Regions from separate parts of the Homo sapiens genome. Here regions 2, 3, 4 and 5 are each linked to region 1. The links are contacts of gene promoters, found by promoter capture Hi-C in blood cells and fetal thymus (Javierre and others, 2016). All regions are on one chromosome and are shown on one strand. Each heading gives the region's core, a stretch centred on a gene start or on the middle of the fragment in contact. The rest is flanking DNA. Distances are from core to core; before and after follow the strand shown.

The links. Contacts are between HindIII fragments. The CHiCAGO score rates a contact against its expected background, and 5 or more counts as called.
Region 2: the fragment with the promoter of EIF4B here is called in contact with the fragment with the promoter of KRT84 in region 1 in 3 of 17 cell types (erythroblasts, M2 macrophages and M0 macrophages); the score reaches 7.5 in erythroblasts.
Region 3: a contact is called between a fragment that was not itself captured here and the fragment with the promoter of KRT84 in region 1, in 4 of 17 cell types (M0 macrophages, M2 macrophages, erythroblasts and 1 more). The highest score is 7.8, in M0 macrophages.
Region 4: a contact is called between a fragment that was not itself captured here and the fragment with the promoter of KRT84 in region 1, in 5 of 17 cell types (M2 macrophages, M1 macrophages, naive CD8 T cells and 2 more). The highest score is 9.4, in M2 macrophages.
Region 5: a contact is called between a fragment that was not itself captured here and the fragment with the promoter of KRT84 in region 1, in 3 of 17 cell types (M0 macrophages, M1 macrophages and M2 macrophages). The highest score is 8.4, in M0 macrophages.

Annotation. Positions count from the first base shown.
Region 1 is chr12:52,384,013-52,388,590 of GRCh38, forward strand. It overlaps KRT84 (keratin 84), which reads right to left and starts at 1,640. Exons shown (of 9, transcript NM_033045.4): 1 at 1,028-1,640. The coding sequence starts at 1,573. The HindIII fragment of the contact is 9,508 bases long and covers 1-4,528 here.
Region 2 is chr12:53,004,459-53,009,036 of GRCh38, forward strand. It overlaps EIF4B (eukaryotic translation initiation factor 4B), which reads left to right and starts at 1,998. Exons shown (of 15, transcript NM_001417.7): 1 at 1,998-2,038. The coding sequence starts at 2,026. RefSeq lists enhancers at 1,369-2,112, 2,113-2,856. The HindIII fragment of the contact is 14,247 bases long and covers 1-2,629 here.
Region 3 is chr12:52,954,995-52,959,572 of GRCh38, forward strand. No RefSeq gene overlaps it. Among named protein-coding and RNA genes, the nearest start is that of KRT18, 8.2 kb to the left of the region's middle. The HindIII fragment of the contact is 647 bases long and covers 1,708-2,354 here.
Region 4 is chr12:52,922,921-52,927,498 of GRCh38, forward strand. It overlaps a transcript of KRT8 not described here. Among named protein-coding and RNA genes, the nearest start is that of KRT8, 20 kb to the left of the region's middle. The HindIII fragment of the contact is 7,195 bases long and covers 1-4,578 here.
Region 5 is chr12:52,906,402-52,910,979 of GRCh38, forward strand. It overlaps a transcript of KRT8 not described here. Among named protein-coding and RNA genes, the nearest start is that of KRT8, 3.6 kb to the left of the region's middle. The HindIII fragment of the contact is 1,829 bases long and covers 866-2,694 here.

The DNA of each region.
Region 1 (4,578 bases), core at 390-2,889:
TTGAACCATAGCACTTCAGTACCATTCCCCTATCCAGTCTCTAAGAAAGCTGTACACTGGTACATCAGGAAGTTGGAAGGGTTGATTCTATTTAAGCTCTGGTTTGCCTATATCTGAAAACTGATGCCAGGCATCCCTGGCAGAGAATGGGGAGCAGAGTAAACTACATTTGGGGTGGGATATGGTACTGGGAGGTAGGAATTCTCAGATTGTAAGTCCTATCCAACATCGCAGATATTCCATTGGCTATGTGTAGAGCTGGAAGAGAACTTACAGACCCTTTACCCCAGCCCCTCATTTTAGAGAGGAAGAACCCAAAACTTACAGAGGTTATCCTTCATTCTCAGACATAACCATTCCATCTCCACATAGACATGGTGTGTGGGATGTCAGTTCTTTTGGGTTATCCACATCACTGTTCCCACTCATCTGCCTGGAAGCCAGTGACTACCAGTGGTCATTCCCTGCAATTTCCCTGAATCTAGGCAACTTGGCCGAATTTTGATACCCCATGTGGGGGTATGAATTCTTCTTCTTTTTTTAATTACTCAACTCCATTCTCTACTTTTCTAAGCCTGAATAGATGAGGCCACTCAGCCTCAGAAACTATGAAAACTTCATAAGGAACAAAAGGATCTCAAAGAATAAAACCTCTTAAGCATATACCAGCCAACACCTGGCTAAAGTCCCAGTGTTTCCAGCCTGTTTCAGAGACATTTCTAAGTGACCAGATGCAACATCTTAGTTTGTCGAGATGCCCTCGAGTTTGGCTGGATGCTCCTCTGTCCTCCAGAAGATATCAACACTGTCGGAATCTATCCCACCATGCAGCTCGTCCTCTGGCTTGGCCTTGCTCTGCAGCAGAGCAACCCATAAAGCATACCACAATGCCTGAGGTAGGCACTTGAAAGATCTGAGGTCAAGGTCAAGTCCCCAGAACCGGGCCAGTTCTTTTTAAGGGAAAGAGCACTCTAGCGCATTTTGGCTGTAATATTCCTAGACCCAGAGATTCAGCTATCATAGGTACCTTGTCAATGAAGGAGGCAAACTTGTTGTTGAGGGTCTTGATTTGCTCCTTCTCATCCTTCTTCACCCTCTGGGCATTGGGGTCAATCTCCAGGTTGAGGGGGGTCAGTAGGCTCTTGTTCACAGTCACAGCTGTGATAGATGGGGCTGCTGGGACTCCAACCCCTCCAACTCTGTAACCAAAGCCAGGGCCACCAAAGCCATAGCCAATGCCACTGCCAGCTCCAAAGCCCAGACCAACACAGCTGTCAGCCCTAGGCCCCAGACCAACACCTCTCCCATCACCAAAACCCATCCCACAGCCAGCACCAAAGCGGACTCCACAGTGGATGGGCCGAGAGCCTACAGCTGCTATCCGGGGTGAGTACGATCCAAAGGTGATGACACTCCGACTACCAAAGCTGCCAAGGCCCCGGAATCCAGGCCCACTCCAACAGGAGACAGAGTTGGCCCGGAAGCGATTCAGGTTCTGTGGTGTCATTGCTGAACAAGAGCTGAAGTTGCCCACCCGGTGACCAGAGCTGACTCGGTAGGAGCGGCAAGACATGATGGCTTCCTGGTTGGGAGCAAAAGAGCAAGTGTAGAATGGGTGAGCTGGAGCTGGGAGTCCCTCTGAGGCCAGTGGAACCCTTGCACCCCTTTTATGTGTGTGGTGATCTGAGGCTTGGCCCCATAAAAATGAAAAAATCCATTTGCAGGCATTTATGAGCTTGGGTAGTTAGCAGAAACTCTGCATGCCTATAACCTCCTTGACAATGAGTTAACTCAGACACACCTAGTCTCATTGGGATGAGGGCTGTAACAGCAAACCAATAAACATTAAAAACACATAAACATATAAACATTATAGTCTTTTTTTTCCCTATAAGTCTACCACAATTGCCATTAAGGGGACATTAATTTGCTTTGGTCATAAATGCAATAGGTTTTTTCACTGTGAGTGTGGCTAACCACCAGAAAGTTAGGATGGCGACAGCTCCAGCAAGAGGCTCACATGGGATGCATCCATGAAGATATAACCCCCTAAAGAGGTGGGAGTGTGTGCACATCTCCAAGTAAGAAGTGATATGGAGAAAATACAGTTTGTTGCATTTCTGCAAATCAATTAAATCATCAAAAAACCTTCTGCCATGTTTTATCCAATATGGCTGTTTAGTATACAAGAGTTGAATCTACAGTAAAGCTCATTTGGGCTAGTGTAGACACATCTGTGATTTGAGACACTCAGAGATATTCATTCATTCTACAGTTTTAGAGTGCCTGCTATGTATCCAGCAGTGTGCTTGCTGCTGAGGGTACAGAGATTACAAAGACAGTCTCTATCTTCATGGTAGTAGGGGAAGATTTATCTTAAATTTTTTTTTTTTTTTTAGAGACATGATCTAGTTGCCCAGGCTGGTCTTGAACTCCTGGGCTCAAGTGATCCTCCCGCCTCCGCCTCCCAGATAGCTGGGACTACAGGCATCCACCACCATGCCCAGCAGAACATTTATCTTGAGGATTTCCAGCAGTCAACACTTTGTGGCATGATTTGAGGCCAAAGCATTGGAAAGTTTCTGTATAGAAAGCTAACTACATGATTTTTAGCCCCCAAATATACCATAGGTGTGATTTATGGGCCTGTCCATTTAGGTTCCTTGAATTATTGATGAATCTTTGGTTAGGATAGAGAGACACAAAGCAATATACATCTGGATAGAAAAGGAAAAGTTCTCAGCAGCTGAATATTATCATTGTTAGCAATATTGCAGCTCTTTTAGGACCCTGAGCCAGGCTGGTGTTTACCTTTTCTATTCTAGTGCATCCTTTGCCCAGGGGAACTCATGTTTGACTGGACGCTTGAGATTCTTTGGGATGCTTGCAATTCCACTTGGAAGGGGATGTATGCTTTTGACCAGAAGCATCCAGCTCATTTGTGCGGTATTTTCTTTTTCCAGCTATCAGCTGTATGTCTAAGGGGGAAATGAAGCAGAAAAACAATAAGAAGTGCATACTTCTCGTCAAGACCACCAGTGGCCTCCATGTTAAATTCAATGGTCTGTCCTCAGTTCTCACTTTCTTCACATAGCTGACCATGCCCTTTCTCTTGAAACACGCTCTTCTTTTGATTTTCGGACACTACACTCTCTCGATTTCTTGCCACACTCTTTTCAGTCTTCTAAGCCAGTTCCTCCTCATATCCCCAACCTCTAGACACTGCAGAGTCCCTGGCTCAATCCTTGGGTATCTATTCTCTTCTTTAGACTCATTGCCTTGGTGATATTATACAGACTCAGGACTTTAAATACCATCTGTTCATTCATGACTGCCAAGGCACAACTCTATCCCAGACCTCCCTACCCCTAAACGCCACACATATATTTTAACCAACATCTCTATTTGGATATCAGATAGGCATCTCAAACTTAATACAGTTGTCCCTTGGTATCCCCAGGTAGTTGGTTCCAGGACCCCTTGTGGATACCAAAATCCATGGATGTTCGTCGAGCCTCCGATATACAATGGTGTAGTATTTGCATGTAACCCACACACATCCTTCTGTATACTTGAAATCATCACTGGATTATAATACCTAATACAATGTAAATGCTATGTAAATAGTTGTTATACTTTATTGACAAGAAAAAAGTCCGTACTTGTTCAGCACAGATGCAATTTTTTTAAGAGTTTCAATCTGCAGTTGGTTGAATCCACAAAGGTGGGAGCCACAGATACAGAGGGATGACTTTATGACCAAAACTGTTCTCCTAATTGTTCCTGCTAAATATGTTCCACTTGCCAACATCACTATCTCTGCAATAGTTCATGCCAGAAATCTTGGAGTCATCCTTTTGTCCTCTGTTTTTTATTTCCCTTTTCCCACATTCAATTCATTGGCAAATTCTCCCTTCAAAATATATCCAGACTCCTACTCCTTCTCACCATCCTGCTGCTCCCATGCTGGCCCAGGCCCATCTCTTCCCACAGGATCTTCTGAACTACACTCCCAGCTGGTCTCCCAGCTTCCTCCCTTGCCCCTTCAGGCTTTTCTTAGCAGCACAGAGTGATCCTTTAAAAACATGTCAGATCATGCCATTTCCATGCCGAAACTCCTCCCATGGTTTCCCACCCATTCAGAGTCAATGCCCTGTAAGACACTATGCAGTGTGCCTCCCTCTTCCCTGACCTCATCCCCTCCACCTGTCCCGCTGCCCACTCTGTTGCAGCCACTTGAGCATCCTGGCTGTCCATCAAACAGGCAGAATGACTCCTGCCTCGAATGCTTACCCCCTTGCTGTTTTCTCTGCTGGGAACCTTTTTCCTCAAATAGCTGTATGGCTGGGTCCCTCAACTCTTCCAGGGCTTTGTTCATATGTCATCCTCTTAGCTTCTATTGGAAACTCCCTGTCCTCCCTGTACACCTGCCCCGCTTCCTTGTCGCCTTAGCATTTACAGCCATCTGAGGTCCTCTTCTTGGGTGGATTTGCCTGTTGTTGTCGTTGACTTGTACTGGCTGGAGCAAAGCTTTAGGAGGCAGACACTGCTGTGCATTTTGCTCTCTGAGGGGTCCCC
Region 2 (4,578 bases), core at 748-3,247, 620 kb after region 1:
CTTATTTTACCCAGCCCTATTCAAGGAGTTGCTCCGGTTCAAACACCTCTGACAATTGCACTCTCCATTCAGTAGCCTGAGTAATCTCTTTTTTTCTAATTAACGCGTGACTTACATAAAGTACACAAATCTTAAGTATTCACAAATCTTAAGTATACGAATTCTAGATATACACCCATGTAACCACCACTCACATCAGGATACTAAGTAATCCTTTTTAAAATTTTATTTCAACTCATGACATTTCTCTGCCTTAAATCATTCCACACTTTCCCAATCCCCTCACATGATCAGCCTCACATGATCCAGCCCCTCTCTCTCAAGATTCATCCTGTACCACTCCTCCCTCCCCTGCCCTCACCATATTGCAGCAAACCCAACTGCGCATCCTGTCTTCTCCTAAACCTCTTCAGAAGACATTCCCAGGGATGGCAGCTTGTAATTTAGACCTCTGTCTGAATGTCACTTCCTCAGAGGTCTACTCTGACAGGCAATCTAAAGTTGCACCTAATAACTTATTACACCACCTTGTTTTAATTACTCACAGAATACTTGTTGTAATATTTTATTAGTTGCTTATTATCTGTCCTTCCCCCACTAGAATATAACCTCTTTTGGGACAGTTCTATTCCATGTTGTACCCGCAAGTGTCTGTGCCTGGCACACGGTGGGAAACAAAAATTTTCATTTAATGAATGAAATGGAACATCAGCTAGGGGAAGCATGAATAGCCCTAGTCTCAGAAATCCTAAAGGCCTAAGTTGGACTAAACCTAGTCAGCAAATTGGACCATTAAATGAGGTAAAAGCCCATGACAATTAAGTGTTCAGCATTTGTTACCTTCTTATTCCGTCTAAATATGCCTCATTAAAACCATTCTTACACAAGACGTTCGATTTGTTTTGCCTTTACAAAAAGTAATTTGAAAACAAACAGTGGTTGATGCCTGTAATCCCGGCACTGTGGGAGGCCTCGGAGGGAGGAATGCTTGAGTCCAGGAGTTCGAGACCAGCCCAGGCGACACAGGGAGACACACCGCCCCCCCCAAGCCCGCCACTCTGTCTCCACACAAAGACTTTTTTTTAATTAGCTGGTCCTGGAGGCACTCGCCTGTGGTCCCAGCTACTCAGGAGGCTGAGGTGGAAGAACTGCTTGAGCCCCGGAGGTTGAGGCTGCAGTGAGCCGAGATCGCGCCACTGCACTCCAGCTTGGGAGACAGGGCGAGACCCCGTCTCAAAAAATAAAAATAAATAAAAATAAAATCAGTGATTTCTGATGTGGCTTTTAAAAACTAGGCCGGGCGCGGTGGCTCACGCCTATAATCCAGCACTTTGGGAGGCCGAGGCGGGTGGATAGCCTGAGACCAGGAGTTCAAGACCAGCATGGCCAATATGGTGAAATATCCCGTTTCTACTAAAAATACAAAAAACTAGCAGCGAATGGTGGTGGGCGCCTGTAATCCCAGCTACTCCAGAGGCTGAGGCAGGTGAATCGCCTGAACCCGAGAGGCGGGGGTTGCAATGAGCCGAGGTCGCGCACGCCATTGCACTCCAGCCCGGACAACAGGAGCGAAACTCCGTCTCAAAAAAGTACATTAAACTCAGAATCTTCCCTTTCAGCACATCCATTTCGCCACACCCATCACCGGCTCCGTGCAGAGTAAGCAGAAGCAGCAGCGAAGCCCCGCCCTTCCCGCCACTCTTCCGGCAGGAAGTCTGTGCGTCAGGAGGCCGGCCAGGACTCAGCTCCAGCCCCGCGCTCGCGTGTAGCCCTACGTAAAGCGTGAGGGGTTTCGCGACAACCCAGGCCCCGCCCCTTTGGCCACATGTCGCGCATGTCTTCCCGTCGGACGGCGTGCCACCTCGCCGCGCAGCTTTACGAACCTAGAGCAGCGCCGCCCCGCCTCCTGTCTCCGTCCTCACCTCCCCGCCCCCTCCCAGCTTCGCGTCTCCTAGCTCGACGCGCCCGCTATAATCACGTGATTGCCTCATCCGGGTCTTTTGCGTTCTCTTTCCCTCTCCCAACATGGCGGCCTCAGGTGAGCGAGCAGCCGAGCGCGGCCAAGGACTGGGCTCTGAAACCCCCCTCCGAGCGTGATCCACTGATTTCCTGAAGTCGGGGAATTGCTGGCACTGGTTCCTTTCTGAATTGAGGGCTGCGGCAGGCTGGCGGCGTGGCCCTGTTAGGTTACTGCCTCTGGATGTTTGGGGGGGAGGGGAAGGACACCTTCCCCTCCCCCTCACACTCTTTTCACCCTTTCTGCGCGAGATTGGAATAGGCAGTAATGGTAGACTCTGGCTTGAATTGGGGAAGGAGGCGCAGAAAGGTGTGCGGGTGGTGCGAGGCCTTTTCGTAGACGTGAATCACCGTGCCCGCGTGAAGGCGTGGAGGAAGGAAGGAGGCGGTTGCTGCGCGGACGAGTGCACATTAGACTACGTCTCCAAGGCGCGAGGCTGTAGCGGACCGGAGTGGGGGGTAGGGGAGTAAGTGTGGTGGGGGGGAGCAGTTGGAACGCGAGCGCGAGTTGGTGGAGGGGCGGGGGAAGGCAGCGGTGCGCGTGCGCGGTAGGAGACACGAGGGTAGTAGAGACGGGCGCGCCTTCAATGCGTGCGCTAGAACCCAGATGGGAAGCTTTTTAACGCGCCTGTGTTGCGCACTTATGTCCTTTTAGGTTGTCTCTTCCCTTTCTAGAGTGTGGGCCCTGTGCCTGTATTCTTCTAAGGGTGTGTGTGTTAGCCTTGGAGGTTGGTGCTATTGGCGTTAGATGGGGGTGGGGAATCCAGTTAGGTGCGCCCACGTGTTGGAGAAGCACCGGTGTGCACCTAGATTTCCTTCTAGGCTTTTTTCTCATACTCAATTGGAGGCATTTTTTACTCAGCGCAGCTATATGCCAGGATCAGGTTTCGCTTCCGGCGCTTCCATGTTGGTTGAATTTGGATAGCTCCAATGGTAGATTTCAGCCTTTTTTTTTTTTTTTTTTTTTTTTTTTTAAGGTAACTGTGCAACTACCAGCAGGTACTTTTAAAATAGTGCTTACTAATGGCTGGAGTTGCTTACTTCTTTAGACAACCTTGGAGGGGAGTATCAGTGCCTTGCAAGTCTAATTACATTTCTAATGGGCTTATAAAAGCAGTGATGACCCAACATCTTGTAGCATTGATTTTAGTTTGAGGAATATAGTTTGTTTTCTCTGGCATGACCTTGCATTCTTCAAAACATTATTTGAACTTCTATCTCTGGGTGCTCATTTCTTACCTAGTAATTCATCGTCTCTATTACAAAGAAGCTAAGGGTTTTGGTTGGCTTTGGAAAATGTTGAGAAATTTGAGGTGCATTTGAACATCTTTCATTGGTGTAACGCTTGACAGTTGACCAAGCACTTTTGTGCATGTTGTCTCCTTCCATCCTGAGGTACTGCAGAGAGCTAGTGGTATTTCTCAGCTAAGGAATATTATTTAAGGCCACACTGCTCTCAGCTGGCAGAGCAAGGTCATAATCTTTGAGACTCCTTAGCAACTTAAAAGTATCAAGGTGTCATCATCAGTTTAGGACGCTGCCCGAAAGCATCTGAAGTTTACAAAAATGTTCATATTTTTTTCTCCAGTGGGCTAGTAAAAGTCCTAAATATATTTTAAACTAACCATTGCTTAAAGTACTTACTTGGTCTGGATTTGCCACCTTAACAGTTTAGTATCGTAATTTAGTGAAGAAAATCTGTGTTTTCTTAACTTTTGTGTAATTTTTAGAGGCGGAACATAGGACAGCAATTCATGTCCTTCGTTTTACCGAGTTGAGGGAAATCCAGACTGATAAAAGGGATTTACTCTGACGTCCCATTCTCTTGTTCTTCCATATTTACTCTACCCCCTTGAAAACCCTCATCTCCTTTAATTCACTTCAGTAAATCTTTTTAGCTGGTACTGGTATCTGAGCACAAGTCACATCTTTCAGTCTGTTCTTGAGGAATCTGGGGTTTATCGGATTGTTTCCCCGCTCCTCTTTCCAGTCACACTGGCTTTGTGAAGTAACCAGTATTCCCTGATGTGGGAAATGGATGTTATGTGTTCTGTGTGAAAATACATAAAACAACTTCATACGCCTCTTTTACTGTTAAATGAGACCAAAAAATTCTTTGCAGCAATACCAGTTTCCAGTGTGATCCATTATTGACCTTCAAGAACTAAGGTAGGTCTCAGAACTAACTATAGAATGAGGATAGTTTGAATTCCTAGAAACTTGATACATTGAGCCAGTACACTTAATTCCTTGCTTTGCTTCTTAAAAAGAATTCTTAAAGGCCGGGCGCGGTGGCTCACGCCTGTAATCCCAGCACTTCGGGAGGTCGAGGCGGGCGGATCACTAGGTCAGGAGTTGGAGACCAACCTGACCAACATGGTGAAACTCTGTCTCTACTAAAAATACAAAAATTAGCTGGGCGTGGTGTCGCGTGCTTGTAATCCCAGCTACTCCGGAGGCTGAGGCAGGAGAATCGCTTCAATCTGGGAGGGGGAGATTGCAGTGAACCGAGATTGTGCCATTGCACTCCAGCCTGGGCAAAAGAGCAAGACTCCATTTCAA
Region 3 (4,578 bases), core at 781-3,280, 570 kb after region 1:
ACACACACATATATATGAAATAAAATTTAAAATCTTGCTGGGCATGGTGGCTCATGCCTGTAATCCCAGCACTTTGGGAGGCCAAGGTGGGTGGATCATCTGAGGTTGGGAGTGGAGAAACTCTGTCTCTACTAAAAATACAAAATTAGCCAGGCGTGATGGCGCATGATTGTAATCCTATCTACTTGGGAGACTGAGGCAGGAGAATCGCTTGAACCAAGGAGTTGGAGGTTGCAGTGAGACGAGATCGAGCCACTGCACTCCAGCCTGGCAACAGAGCAAGACTCTGTCTCAAAAAAAAAAAAAAAAAAAATAGCCATGCGTAGTGGCATACACCTGTAGTCCCAGCTACTTGGGAGGCTGAGGCAGGAGATTTGCTTGAACCCAGCAGGCAGAGGTTGCAGTGAGTGAAGATCGCGCCACTGTACTTCAGCCTGGGTGACAGAACAAGACTCCATCTCAAATAAATAAATAAATAAAACTAAATAAAATAAAATCTCCCCTCTCCACTCCCTAGAAGTAACCACTGTTAAATACCTTTTAAAATTAGACATATACAAGCACATTTCATTATGTTTTATATATGTAAAATTATCCAGCTCTGCATCTTGATTTCTTTTTTTATTTTTTTTTAATTGAGACAGAGTCTCACTCTGTCGCCCAGGCTGGAGTGCAGTGGCACCATCACGGCTCACTGCCACCTCTGCTTCCCGGGTTCAAGCGATTCTCCTGCCTCAGCCTACTGAGTAGCTGGGATTACAGGCACCCACCACCACGCCTGGCTAATTGTTGTATTTTTAGTAGAGACAGGGTTTCACCATGTTGATCAGGCTGGTCTCGAACTCCTGACCTTGTGATCCACCTGCCTCGGCCTCCCAAAGTGCTGGGATTACAGGCGTGAGCCACCATGCTTGGCTTTGATTTCTTAAATTCTACTTTCTTCATTTAACAATACGTCTCGGGGCTGGGCATGGTGGCTCATGCCTGTAATCCCAGCACTTTGGGAGGCTGAGGCGGACAGATCACGAGATCAGGAGATCGAGACTATCCTGGCTAACACAGTGGAACCCCATCTCTACTAAAAATGCAAAAAAAATTAGCTGGGCATGGTGGCGGGCACCTGTAGTCCCAGCTACTCTGGAGGCTGAAGCAGGAGAATGGAATGAACCTGGAAGGCGGAGCTTGCAGTGAGCCGAGATTCCACCACTGCATTCCAGCCTGGGCAACAGAGCAAGACTCTGTCTCAAAAAATAAAAATAAATGAAAATACATCTTGGACACCTTTCTGAATCAGTATACATAGACCTGCCCCATTCATTTGAGTAGCTGCTTAGTACTCTACTGCGTGGAGTACAAATTAATTAACCTAACCTAGGTCTTTAAGTAATGGATGTCTTGATCTTTTTTTTTTTTTTTTTTTTTTTGAGACAGAATCTCACTCTGTCGCCCAGGCTGGAGTACAGTGCTATGATCTCAGCTCACTGCAACCTCTCCCTCCTGGGTTCAAGTAATTCTCCTGGCTCAGCCTCCCGAGTAGCTGGGACTACAGGTGCATGCCACCATGCCCAGCTAATTTTTAGTATTTTAGTAGAGACAGGGTTTCACCGTGTTGCCAAGGCTGGCCTCGAACTGAGCTCAGGCAATCCACCAGCCTTGGCCTCCCAAAGTACTGGGATTACAGGCATGAGCAACCACGCCCAGCCTAAAAGCTTTTTCTTTTCTTTTTTTTTTTTTTTTGACAGAGTCTCACCCTGTCGCTCAGGCTGGAGTGCAATGGCACGATCTTGGCTCACTCCAACCTCTGCCTCCCAGGTTCAAGCGATTCTCCTGCCTCAGCCTACTGAGTATCTGGGATTACAGGCACCCTCCACCATGCCCAGCTAATTTTTTGTATCTTTTAGTAGAGACGGGGTTTTCACCATGTTGATCAGGCTGGCCTTGAACTCCTGACCTCGTGATCCACCTGCCTCGGCCTCCCAAAGTACTCGGATTATAGGTGTGAGCCACCGTGCCTGGCCATCTTGATCTTTAGTAGCTTTGTTTTTGCAAAAAACAGACACCAGCCAACGTTATAGGATGCGCAGCTGACTGAAGGTAAAACAGGAAGTCCCTGGGGAGCCTGAGCAGTACTTGCAGCTGAGTCAAGCTGATCAGAGTAATCCAAGACGATGCACCTGATACGATTAGCCCTCCCATTAGACAATGTCTCACAGTTCCCAGGGTGCTTATGCATTTGATCCTCATTACAATCCTGTGAGGTATGCAAGGCTGTGGGTATTATTGGCTCTGGCTCTGAGAGTTGGATACTGAGGTCCACAGGCATCATGCAACTTGTCTGAGGTCACAGAGCTGGAAGCTTAAAGCAGGAACCACATCTCCAGGTTCCCAGTCCGCAGGTCTTTCCTCTGTGTGCTATAACTTAACTGTGCGGGCTGCACAATAGAATCCCCGGGAAGCTTTACAAACAATACTGAGGCCTGGGTCCCAGCACCAGAGATTCTGATTCAGGTGTTTGGAGGGCAGGACTCAGGGCAAATGTTTGAAAAGCTCCCTAGGTGACTCCAATAGGCAGGCAAGGTTGGGGGCCAGACCCAAGCTGTACCTGGGGTTTGCAGCATGACATTCCTTCCTGATTCAGGTTATGGTTGTGTCAGATTTATTTATTTATTTATTTATTTATGAGACTCTGTCACCCAGGCTGGAATGCAGTGGTGCGATCTTGGCTCACTGCAACCTCCGCCTCCTGGGTTCAAGTGATTCTCCTGCCTCAGCCTCCCAAGTAGCTGGGATTACAGGTGCACGCCACCACGCCTGGCTAATTTTTGTATTTTTAGTAGGGACAGGGTTTCACCATGTTGGTCATGCTGGTCTTGAACTCCTGACCTCATGATCCGCTCGCCTCGGCCTCCCAAAGTGCTGAGATTACAGGTGTGAGCCACTGTGCCAGGCTGGCTGTGCCTATTTTAAACAGCGCACTGCTGGAAAATCCCGAGGCCTCTGGAACAATCCTACTCATTCCCCAGCATGGGAAGATGACTGAGGGGCAGCCTATTTTGTCCCCCAAGCACCAAAGGTTAAAATTATCAATCCCAAGGTTATAACATGGAGTCATCTGTTCCATATTATATCAGTCCTATTTTATCCATTCTCTATCAAAGTGCAACCCAACCCAGATGATAAAATTAATAAATGGTACTGGAAGATACAGAATGGCATATAGTGCCATTTGAGGGAAAAAAGCAACTCATATGTATATACCCTTGTACATGCAAACATCTCTACAAGGAGACAGGAAATTGGAATTCGTGATTGCCTCCGGGGAGAGAAATTGGTAGGGGGGAAACAAGGGGGAAGGAAGACTACTTTACATTGTGTGTCCTTTTATACCTTCTGAATTACTTATTACTAATTACAAAGAAAGCAGGGAAGGATTGTTAACTTTCCTTTTTTTTTTTTTTTTTTTTTTTTTTTTTTTTTGAGACGGAGTCTCGCTCTCGCCCAGGCTGGAGTGCAGTGGCGCGATCTCGGCTCACTGCAAGCTCCGCCTCCCAAGTTCACGCCAGTCTCCTGCCTCAGCCTCCCAAGTAGCTGTGACTACAGGCGCCCGCTACCATGCCCGGCTAATTTTTTTGTATTTTTAGTAGAGATGGGGCTTCACTGTGTTAGCCAGGATGGTCTCGATCTCCTGACACCGTGATCCGCCCGCCTCGGCCTCCCAAAGTGCTGGGATTACAGGCGTGAGCCACCACGCCCGGCCGATTGTTAACTTTTCAATGGTACAGGAATCTACAGAATTCCAGGGAAGGAAATGTTGCTGCTGTCTTTGTTCCACTCTTTTTTATTTCTTTTTTCTTTCTTTTTTTTTTTTTTTTTTTTTTTTTTGAGACAAGTCTTGCTCTGTCACCCAGGCTGGAGTACAATAGCACGATCTCAGCTCACTGCAACCTCCACCTCCCAATTCTCATGCCTCAGCCTCCCAAGTAACTGGGATTGCAGGTGCACACTACGCCTGGCTAATTTTTTGTATTTTTAGTAGAGGCACCATGCCTGGCTCCACCATATTCTTTCAATCAGTCATTCGATAAGTATTTATTGAGCACCTACTGTGTACTAAGACCTGTTCTAAGTCCAGAGAATACAGTGGTGAATAAAACAGACCAAAAAAATCCCTGTTCTTGTGGAGTTTAAATTCTAGCAGATGGAGACATAATAAACGATAATTTAGCAAGTAAATTACAGAGTATGTTAGAAAGAGTATGTGTTATGGGAAAAGATAGAGCAAGGTATGAGGACTCAGCAGTTGGTGGGGTAGGAGTATATTAGTTTCCTATTACTGCTCTAACAAATTACCATAAACTTAGCGACTTAAAACAATATACATGTTATCGGCATGGTGGCTCACGCCTGTAATCCCAGCACTTTGGGAGGCTGAGGTGGGAGGATCACAAGGTCAGGAGATCGAGACCATCCTGTCTAACACAGTGAAACCCCATCTCTACTAAAAATACAAAAAAATTAGCCGGGCGTGGTGGCGGGCGCCTGTAGTCCCAGCTACTCAGGAGGCTGAGGCAGGAGAAT
Region 4 (4,578 bases), core at 1,220-3,719, 540 kb after region 1:
TTGAACTGATCGGCCAACACCTCTGATAAAGGAAGGTGCCTTCCAGAAGACCTCCAGGAGCTTCCCCGCTGATCTGGGGAAGCTCAGGAAGCCCAGGACAGCTGAGTGAGGGTTCCGTAGCCAGGCTCCCAGCTCTCTGCCCTCCCACTCGTCCTGTGAACTGACCCTCCCTCACATCATTGCACTTCTGCAAATTCCTACCACTACCTCCAAAGTGCTCTAGGATGTGTGATTAAAATCAAAGCGTTCTAAGGTTTATGATGAAAATTAAATGAAATTAAGTTAAATTTTTGTTTTGAGAATTGTTTTAGACTATTCCTAGAAGAATGTGCAGTAGCAGGAAAACATAAGTTTGGAAATCAAATAGCCTGTGTTCTAGTCTCAACTCGGTCTCTAAATTGCTGTGTGACATTGGACAAGTTACTGCTCCTCTCTGAGCTACAGTTGCCTCATCTATATAATGAAGGGGCAGGACCATTTATTCCTAAATTGTTTTGTTTTGTTTTGTTTTGTTTTTGAGATGGAGTCTCGCTGTGTTGCCCAGGTTGGAGTACAGTGGCTTAATCTCAGCTCACTGCAAGCTCTGCCTCCTGGGTTCACGCCATTCTCCTGCCTCAGCCTCCCGAGTAGCTGGGACTACAGGCGCCAGCCACCACGCCTGGCTAATTTTTGTATTTTTAGTAGAGACGGGATTTCACCTTGTTAGCCAGGATGGTCTCAATCTCCTGACCTCGTGATCCGCCCGCCTCGGCCTCCCAAAATACTGGGATTACAGGCGTGAGCCACCACGCCCGGCTCTAAATTATTTTTATTACTAATTATTAATTTTTGAAATTATTAAAATTACCTGTATTATTACATTTAAATTAATATGGATTTTAGAGCTTTGAATTGCCTAAAGTGCTTGCAGTGTAGTGAGAAAAGCATTATATATTTTTTTTTTCGAGACGGAGCCTCGCTCTCGCCCAGGCTGGAGTGCAGTGGCATGATCACTGCTCGCTGCAACCTCCGCCTCCCGGGTTCAAGCGATTCTCCTGCCTCAGCCTCCCGAGTAGCTGGGATTACAGGCGCCCGCCACCACGCCTGGCTAATTTTCGTATTTTTTCAGTAGAGACGGGGTTTTACCATGTTGGCCAGGCTGGCCTCAAACTCCTGACCTCAGGTGATCCGCCTGCCTCAGCATGAGCCGAGTTGTGAGCCACCCACCACACCCGGCCAAAAGCATTATACTTAAAATCATACATTAGGCCAGGCGCAGTGGCTCATGCCTGTAATCCCGGCACTTTGGGAGGCTGAGGCAGACAGATCACAAGGTCAGGAAATCGAGACCATCCTGGCTAACACGGTGAAACCCTGTCTCTACTAAAAATACAAAAAAATTAGGCGGGCATGGTGGCGGGCGTCTGTAGTCCCAGCTACTAGGGAGGCTGAGGCAGGAGAATGGCATGAACCCGGGAGGCGGAGCTTGCAGTGAGCTGAGATTGCGCCACTGCACTCCAGCCTGGGCGACAGAGGGAGACTCCGTCTCAAAAAAAAAAAAAAAAATCATACTTGATTTGGGCTCTCAGCTTTTGTTCTCTCATATGTAAAATAAATTAGATTGAGGCTGCAGTGAACTATGACAGGCCACTGCATTCCAGCTTGGGCGACAGAGCCAGACCCTGTCTCAAAAAAATAAATAAAAATTTAAAAATAAAATAAATTATATGATGATAATGTTTGTAAAGATAATTGTAAAGATAATTGTAATTTGTAAAGATAATTGCTTGTATAGGACACTACTGTATAGGACACTACTGTGATGGGAAAAGACCATGCACTCTTCTCTAAGAATTCACCGTTCCTTCTGTCTTTTGCCTTCCTCCCCTCAGCTAAAGGGCTCCTGGAGTGAAGTGGACCCTCAGCTGTACTCTGTGGTCTGCGGCAACAGCCAACGCACAGAGGAGCATCCTCTCCTTAACTAAGCACCGAAAGGGAGTGAAAGGGTAGACTGAAGGAAGGACTTACTAATTCAAGGAGTCATTGGAGCAGAAATGAGTGACCAGGAATGGGGAGGATGCGTCTGTGGAAAAGGAACAGGGCTGGGCCCCCTTCTCACTGGTCCTAGATGGGATCAGGCCTGCCCAGAAGCCAAGAAAAAGATGTTGTATAGACCTCAATGGGGCAAGGCCGGGATGATTGAGGGGATACCTTCAGGGGAGGAGGTGCTAGGCAGTTTTCTGAAAATGGTGCGTTCAGACAGCTCACTATTTCCTGTAGTAATTCCAGGAAAAGACTGAGTAAGACAAGGTCAGGACCGGGAGGAATGCAGCTGGAGGAGGTGTGTATGCACAGTCTCCCCAGGGTGAGCCTGTCCAGAGCCATAAACCTTATCTCCTTCCTCTGAATAGCTGGGATAGCTATCTCTGGCTCCCAGGGGCTCAGGCTGAGTCAGGGCTGGAGGCTGGGAGAGACTGTGGGCCCCGAAGCATACCTAAAACTGTGAGACCACTCAGCACTTAGGTATGAATGGCGCCATTTAGGGTCTGAAATGGTCACCATTTTCAGAAACCTGCTCAACACCTCTTCCCCTGCAGGTATCCCCCTCCGTCATCCTGGCCTTGCCCCATTGATACCTGAAGTGTGGCACATTCAGGAATGAGATTGGAGCAAAAGGGATCTCTTTGGCGGAGGTGGGGTCAAAGAGATAGATTAGGATGATTCATCTCCACAAAGGCTAAGGCTTTAGATTCCTACCAGCCAGCCCCAGGCCAGAAATTTCCCCTTCAAGGAAAGTTGGGCTCCAGGGCTGGGCAATACTATCACCTCAATTATCCCTCTGTTCCTGAGTTCTAGGGTTTATGCACAGTTCTTAATGGGGCCTAATAGTTTCTTTGTCTCTTCCAGCCCTCTATCTTAGAGGACAGGAGGTGGAGCCTACCAACAAAGGGACCCAGGTTCCAGTTCCAGGGCTGCGTTTCTCTCCCCCTCAGGGCCCATTACTCTGAGCTGGGCCCCAGGTAGGGGAGGAAGGAGGAGAAAGGAGGCAGTGTTCTCATGTTCTCTGTGTCCCTGAGAAATTCCCCACCTCCCTTTCAAGCTCCCTCCTAGCAGGCTGGTGAGACCTGCCCTGGAGACAGGCTGGTGCGAGAGGCCCCCTCTGCAGAGTGGAAGGGGGTGACATAATTGCCTGTCCTGAGACTTCTAGACATGTACACACTGTCCCTCTGCCTGGTGTGTCCCTGCCCCCCGCCCCCCACCACCTCTCCTGCTCGCTCAGGTATCCTCTCCAGTGCCCAGCCAGACTGATCTTCTACAAACACTGCTTTGATCCTGTCACTCCCTAGCCCAGAGCTTCCCGTTGCCTTCAGAATAAAGGTCAAATTCCTCATCTGGTGGCTGAGGCTTAGCCTTCCCCACCTGGCACTAGCTGCCCTCCCCACCCCACCCCCAGGACTGTGCCCTCCTCTCCTGAAGCACCTCCTTGTCACCTGCACCTGTTGAAACCTTACCCTTCCTGCAGGTCCTGGCTCCAGCTCACCCCATTCATTCCGCAAACATTTGCTGAATGAAAATCATGCATCAGGCACCTCCCCACAAAGCCTGCCCCAGTCACCTCTGCCGGAAGTGGCCACTCCTATAGAGACCCCAAGAATAGGGCTTTGTTACACCCCTGGGCTGGGTTACACTTGCTGTGGGCATGTCTGAGCTCCCCTCCCTGATTGTAAACCTGATCCACAGTCATTTAGCATGCACTGAACATCCACTATTAATGAGGCATTTTCCATATTTGTCTCATTTGACCCTCACAAGGACCTTGGGAGTTCAGTCTTCTTATCCTTATTTACAGATGAGGAATCCAAGGCTCTAAGAAGTAATGTGCCCAGCAAGTAGTAGTCAGAGCTCAAACCGGAGTCCTGTACCCTAAGTCCAGGGCCCGCACATCAGCGCCAAGGCATCTTCCTCAAAAGTAGGGGCGTGTCTTATACATGTTTCTGCTTCCCTCCACACCCAGCACAGGAACTTGTTTGATTCACTGAATGAATGAATGAATGAATGAATGAATGAATGAATGATTCAATTCTATCCCATGAGTCCTCTTCTCTACTCTGACCCTATCTCCTCTCTCCCACATTGCTTTTTTCCTATCTTCTGTCCCTTACCCTGGACCCCAAGGATTCCCCCCAAGGGAGGAAAGAAGCTGTGATTGTTTCATGGATACCAGAGATGGGAGCTAAGCCTCAGAAGGGTGTCCACAGCCTGGACACACCCCAGGGAGGAGATTCAGGACAGGAAGACCCCTTCACCTTCACCACCACTCAGTTTGATAGACCCAGGAGAGTTCCAGTCCTTCTCTCCACCCCTCCCCAACTCCAGCAGGAAATAGGTGGGCCCAAGGGAGCAGCAGGACAAGCCAGAGAACAGTGAGAGGGTGAAGAGGGGCCCAGATTCAGTGACTCACCACCCTTGGGCCTCCCCTGGGGAAAGGGTGGGGAGCCTGGACACTTGGAATTCCTGCCTGTCCCTAGGGAGACACTTGGGTGTTAGGAGGCTGAACAGGAGGAGGAAGAGCTCTGTTTGTCCCAAACTAAGGGGTGG
Region 5 (4,578 bases), core at 530-3,029, 520 kb after region 1:
CTGGACCCTCCTGCTTTACCCAGGCTCCCAACGGGCCAGAGGAAATAGAGGAAGAGTCCCTGCACCTGTCTCCCATTATCAAAGTGAGTCAGGAGGGCAGGTTGGGACGTAGCACGCACCTGTGGGAGGTTGGAGATTGGGGAGCTGAGCAAGGCACCCCAGGCCTGGGTGGGGCCAGGCAGGGCATGCTGTGGGTGGAAGGCAGGAGGTTTAGGTCCCCAAGGCAGAGATTCCACCTGCAATTACCTGATGGCTGGGGCTGGGTTCTCTGGAAGATACTGCAGGGTGTGATGTGGGGACTGGATGAAACTGAACTCAGAGGACCAACAGATGACAGCCAGATCCCCTTGAGGAGAGGGACAGGTGACATAGCCCTGACCCAGGGAAGGGGGTGACCACCTACTGGGAGGACAGATGTACAGTTTCTTCCCCATCCTTCTCTAGGAGAGACACCCAGGCTCACAGAAAGACAGGCACATAGGACCCCTACCCAGAAGGACAGAGAGACCCAGAAGCCCCCTCCTTGGAGGACAGACAAACTTAAAAAGACAGACACACAGACAAGCTCTCTTCACAATGCACGCGTGCATACACACACACACACACACACACCCCACACATTGAAGTCCCTTCCAGAAAAATGCATAGATCCCAAGAGCGGGCACAGTGAGTGGCTCCTTCACCTCCCCTCCCCTCCCCAGGCCCTGCCTCCTGCTATGCTGAATGGAGCAAGGGAAATTCAGTTAGCACCTATTTACACCAGGCCTTCTCCCAGCTCCTTTAAACAATGCCTAATTTTCCCAAGAGTGATTGGAAGGCATGCTACCCCCTCCCCAACAAACACCCGCACCCACCAGGGCTGAGAAGCTTTTAACAGAAGACCAAAGGGAGAAGGACTGGGCCCAGTGCCAAACCTGGGACAGGGAAGGCGGAAGGAGGGAGGGAGGGGCTGGTCAGACGGGTATGGCAGCCCTGGAAAGGGAGGACAGGCGCTCTCCCTATCTTCCCTCCCCCACGCTGCTGTTAGAGGGAGCAGGGGGCACTCAGGTCCTGATCTAGGCAGCACAAGGAGCAAAAAAACAGCACCCCAAAGCCTTTCCTGAAATTCCAGTCCCCTCCACCCCACCTTTCTGGTTCCCTGGTTCTAGGAGTGTCCCTTGTTTAAGGTGAGGACAGAGGGGGTTGCCAGGGACCCTGCAGTATGCAGGCTGGAGGGCTGACCCAGACCTTACCCAGCCAGGGGAAGCCCTTTTTTTCTGGGGCAGCCCAGAACCGTCTAGGGCCAGAAGTGTTTGTGTCTCATTTGTCATCTCTCTATTGCCCAGAGACCCCAGCCAAACCTTCCCCCAGATGCCCCAAGCACAGCCTCGGTGCAGGAGAAGAGGCCAGAGTTGGCCTCTCTGATGGCCCCTGCCTGGGACTTCAGGGTTAAAGGCAGAAGGAGAAGGCCCCTGGGACTAGGGCCAAGTGGTGAGGGAAGAGAGAACCAGACTGGAGCAGGCCCACAGGTACAACTCCTTGTAAGGCATTGTGGTCTACACACAGCTGCCTGCCGGACAAAAGGGAACAACGTGTTTGCGGTGCCTGCCCTACCCAGACAACTCTGCCTCAAACCGCCTTTCCTGGAGAGTGAACCAGGGAAGGAGGAGACACTCACTCCCTGTGGGCCAAGAGTGAGGGCCAGGCCCCCTACTTCTGATGGTGCAGGATAATTCAGAGAAGGCCCTGAGACCCTGAGCAGTGGCATTAAGTCTTGGGGCCAGTGGGGTGGGGAGGTAGCTGTTATCATCACTCATGATCATGGGAAGAGATGGTCTGAACAAGTTTTTTTTTTTCTTTTTTGAGACGGAGTCTCGCTCTGTCACCCAGACTGGAGTGCAGTGGCGCAATCTCGGCTCACTGCAAGCTCCGCCTCCCGGGATCTGAACAAGTTTTGCTTAGAGATCAGGACTGATGATCTCATTCGCTGCAACCTTGTTCATAATAGCCAAAGAGTGGGAACAAAACAAATGTCCACCAAATGACGAATGGATTTCTTTAATGTGGCATATCCATACGATCTAATGTTACAATTAAAAGGAATGAACTACTGATGCATGTTGGATGCAGATGAGCCTTGAAACCCGTATGCTCAGTGAAAGGAGACAGTCATAGAAGATCAGGTACCCTATGATTCCATTTATATGACATGTGCACAACAGGCAAAGCATAGAGACAGGAAGTAGATTAGTGGTTGCCTAGGGAGGGGAGGAATGGAGATGAATGCTAAAGAGCACAGGGTTTCTTTCTGGGGTGATGAGAATGTTCTAAATTTGATGGTGGTGGGCAGGCACAATGGCTCTACCTATAATCCCAGCACTTTGGGAGGTCGAGGCAGGAGGATTACTTTAGCCCAGGAGTTTGAGACCAGCTGAGCAACATAATGAGACCCCCGTCTCTACAAAAAATACAAAAATTAGCCAGGTATGGCGGCACACGCCTGTAGTCCCAGCTGCCCTGGAGGCTGAGTTGTGAGGATCACCTGAGCCCCGAAAGTTGAGGCCGCATGCATTGAGCCAAGACTGTGCCACTGCACTCTAGCCTGCGTGGGAGACAGAGTGAAACTCTGTCTCAAAAATAAATAAATAAATAAACAAATTTGATGATGGTGAAGCTGCACAAGTCTGTGAACATACTAAAAATCACTGAACTGCAAGCTTCAGATTGTTGAATTATATTGTATGTGAATTACAGCTCAACAAAGTTGTAACAAAAAGATAACCACAAAAGCATAAATGAGCTACATATAAAAAGCAGGGGCTTTGTGCCCAGCATAAGGGGTCAGGGGAAAGAAGCAAAGAGTTTGTTTAGATGCCCCAGGTAAAGAGGCTTCCTGCCTCTGGGTTAAGGCAATGCCCGAAAAGCACCCGAAATCCCTTTAAATGATGGAGCATTTTGAAATGTTATTATTGGTATAGAAATAGCTGCATTTAGCATAGAGACAGCAGAACAATTTGTTTAAATAGGAAGCCACAGGTGGTGGGTACACCCCTCAGGAAGCAGCATCATGAATAATAGAGTCAATTCGATTGCTAATTTTGTGTTATGTGCCTCAAGGCTAAAATTTTTCATTGTCAAAGCTTAGCAAATGCTGACTTTTTTGCTCTTGATCAGTGATGGATCTGATGATTAAAGCCAGCCAGGATGGAAATGGACTGCCTAGAGAGGGAGCAACCTCCTGTACCTGGAGACATGGAGAGGGACCTTGCTCACCAGCTGTCCACTGGCTCAGTGGGAGGGGGTTCTCACATCTGCTAGGGTTTGAATTAGAATGTCCAAGTCCCGCCAACTCTGAAAGCTTTTGATCCACATCCACCACCATAGAGCTTTACGCACTGAAGATGAAAATCTGTGAATGTTCTCTGGTTTGAAATTTTGCTTGTGATAAGAGATATGATTAGAAATTATTAGAACAAGAGTGAGGGAGGACAGCACAGCCTTGTTGTGGAGGAAGGAGACACAAGCCCAGCAGCCTGAAGATGTTGAGGTCTCCCACACTTTTTTTTCTTTTTTTTAGAGACAGGATCTCACTATGTTGCCCAGCCTGACTCGAACTCCTGGATGCAAGCAATCCTTCTGCCTCAGCCTCCCAAAGTACTAGGGTTACAGCGTGAGCCACTGCACACAGCCTTTCTCACATTTTCAACATTCTCTCACCCTCCTCTCCACTGATGCCAAACCAAGAAGGTCATCCCACTGGGTGAGCATGAAGCCTAGGCGGAAGGTCCCAGCTATGGCTCAGTCCACAGAGTCCTTCCCCTTAACTCTGGTTCTCCATCACATCAAGATCGCCCGTGGGAGATTATAACAGTATACGTGCTCAGGTCGCACCCCGTCTGCATTTTCAAAGCTTCCTCGGTACAGCCAGAGTCAGGCACCAGGCTTTAGCTCTGGTCCCAACACCAAGACCTTTAGGAACACACTTTCTTCCTCTTCCCAGAGGAAATAGGCCAGAGCTCAAATCCACAGCACTGCAGGTTCCTGCTTAGAAAGGGTGATATACTCTGTCCCTCAGGAAGGAAAACAGAGTGGTTCAGTCCCCAGAACCTGAAACTCCACCACCGTTGGCCAGGGCCACAGAGACAGAGACAGAGACTGCGAGAGGACAGACACAAATGGGTCCCACTCCTGACAGTGAAGACAGCGGTACTGGGGACTTGAGTGACAGGAAGTGGAAGTTATTGAGAGGATTTCAAGGAAACTTCAGAAGCTGACATTGCGATAGGGGAAGCCCTCATGGTGTTCAGGCAACCGGACAGGAGTGCAGGAAAAGAACAAACAGGAAGGACCTGGGGCTCCGCTATAGGCATCCTGCCCACCCCCACCCCAGCCCTGAGGATTCCCCTGGCCTGAGCTGCTTAGCACTGGAGCTGATATCCAGAGGCCCACTGTTTTGATTTTCCTGCTGGGCAACCTGAGGACTAAGGTGGGAGTTGGGGACAGGGACTAGAGGCCTTTATTCCTTCCTGTATTCACCTTTTCATTTATCCACATATTTGCTTATCAGGCAGTAGTCTAAAAAATTTCAGGAGATGAAGT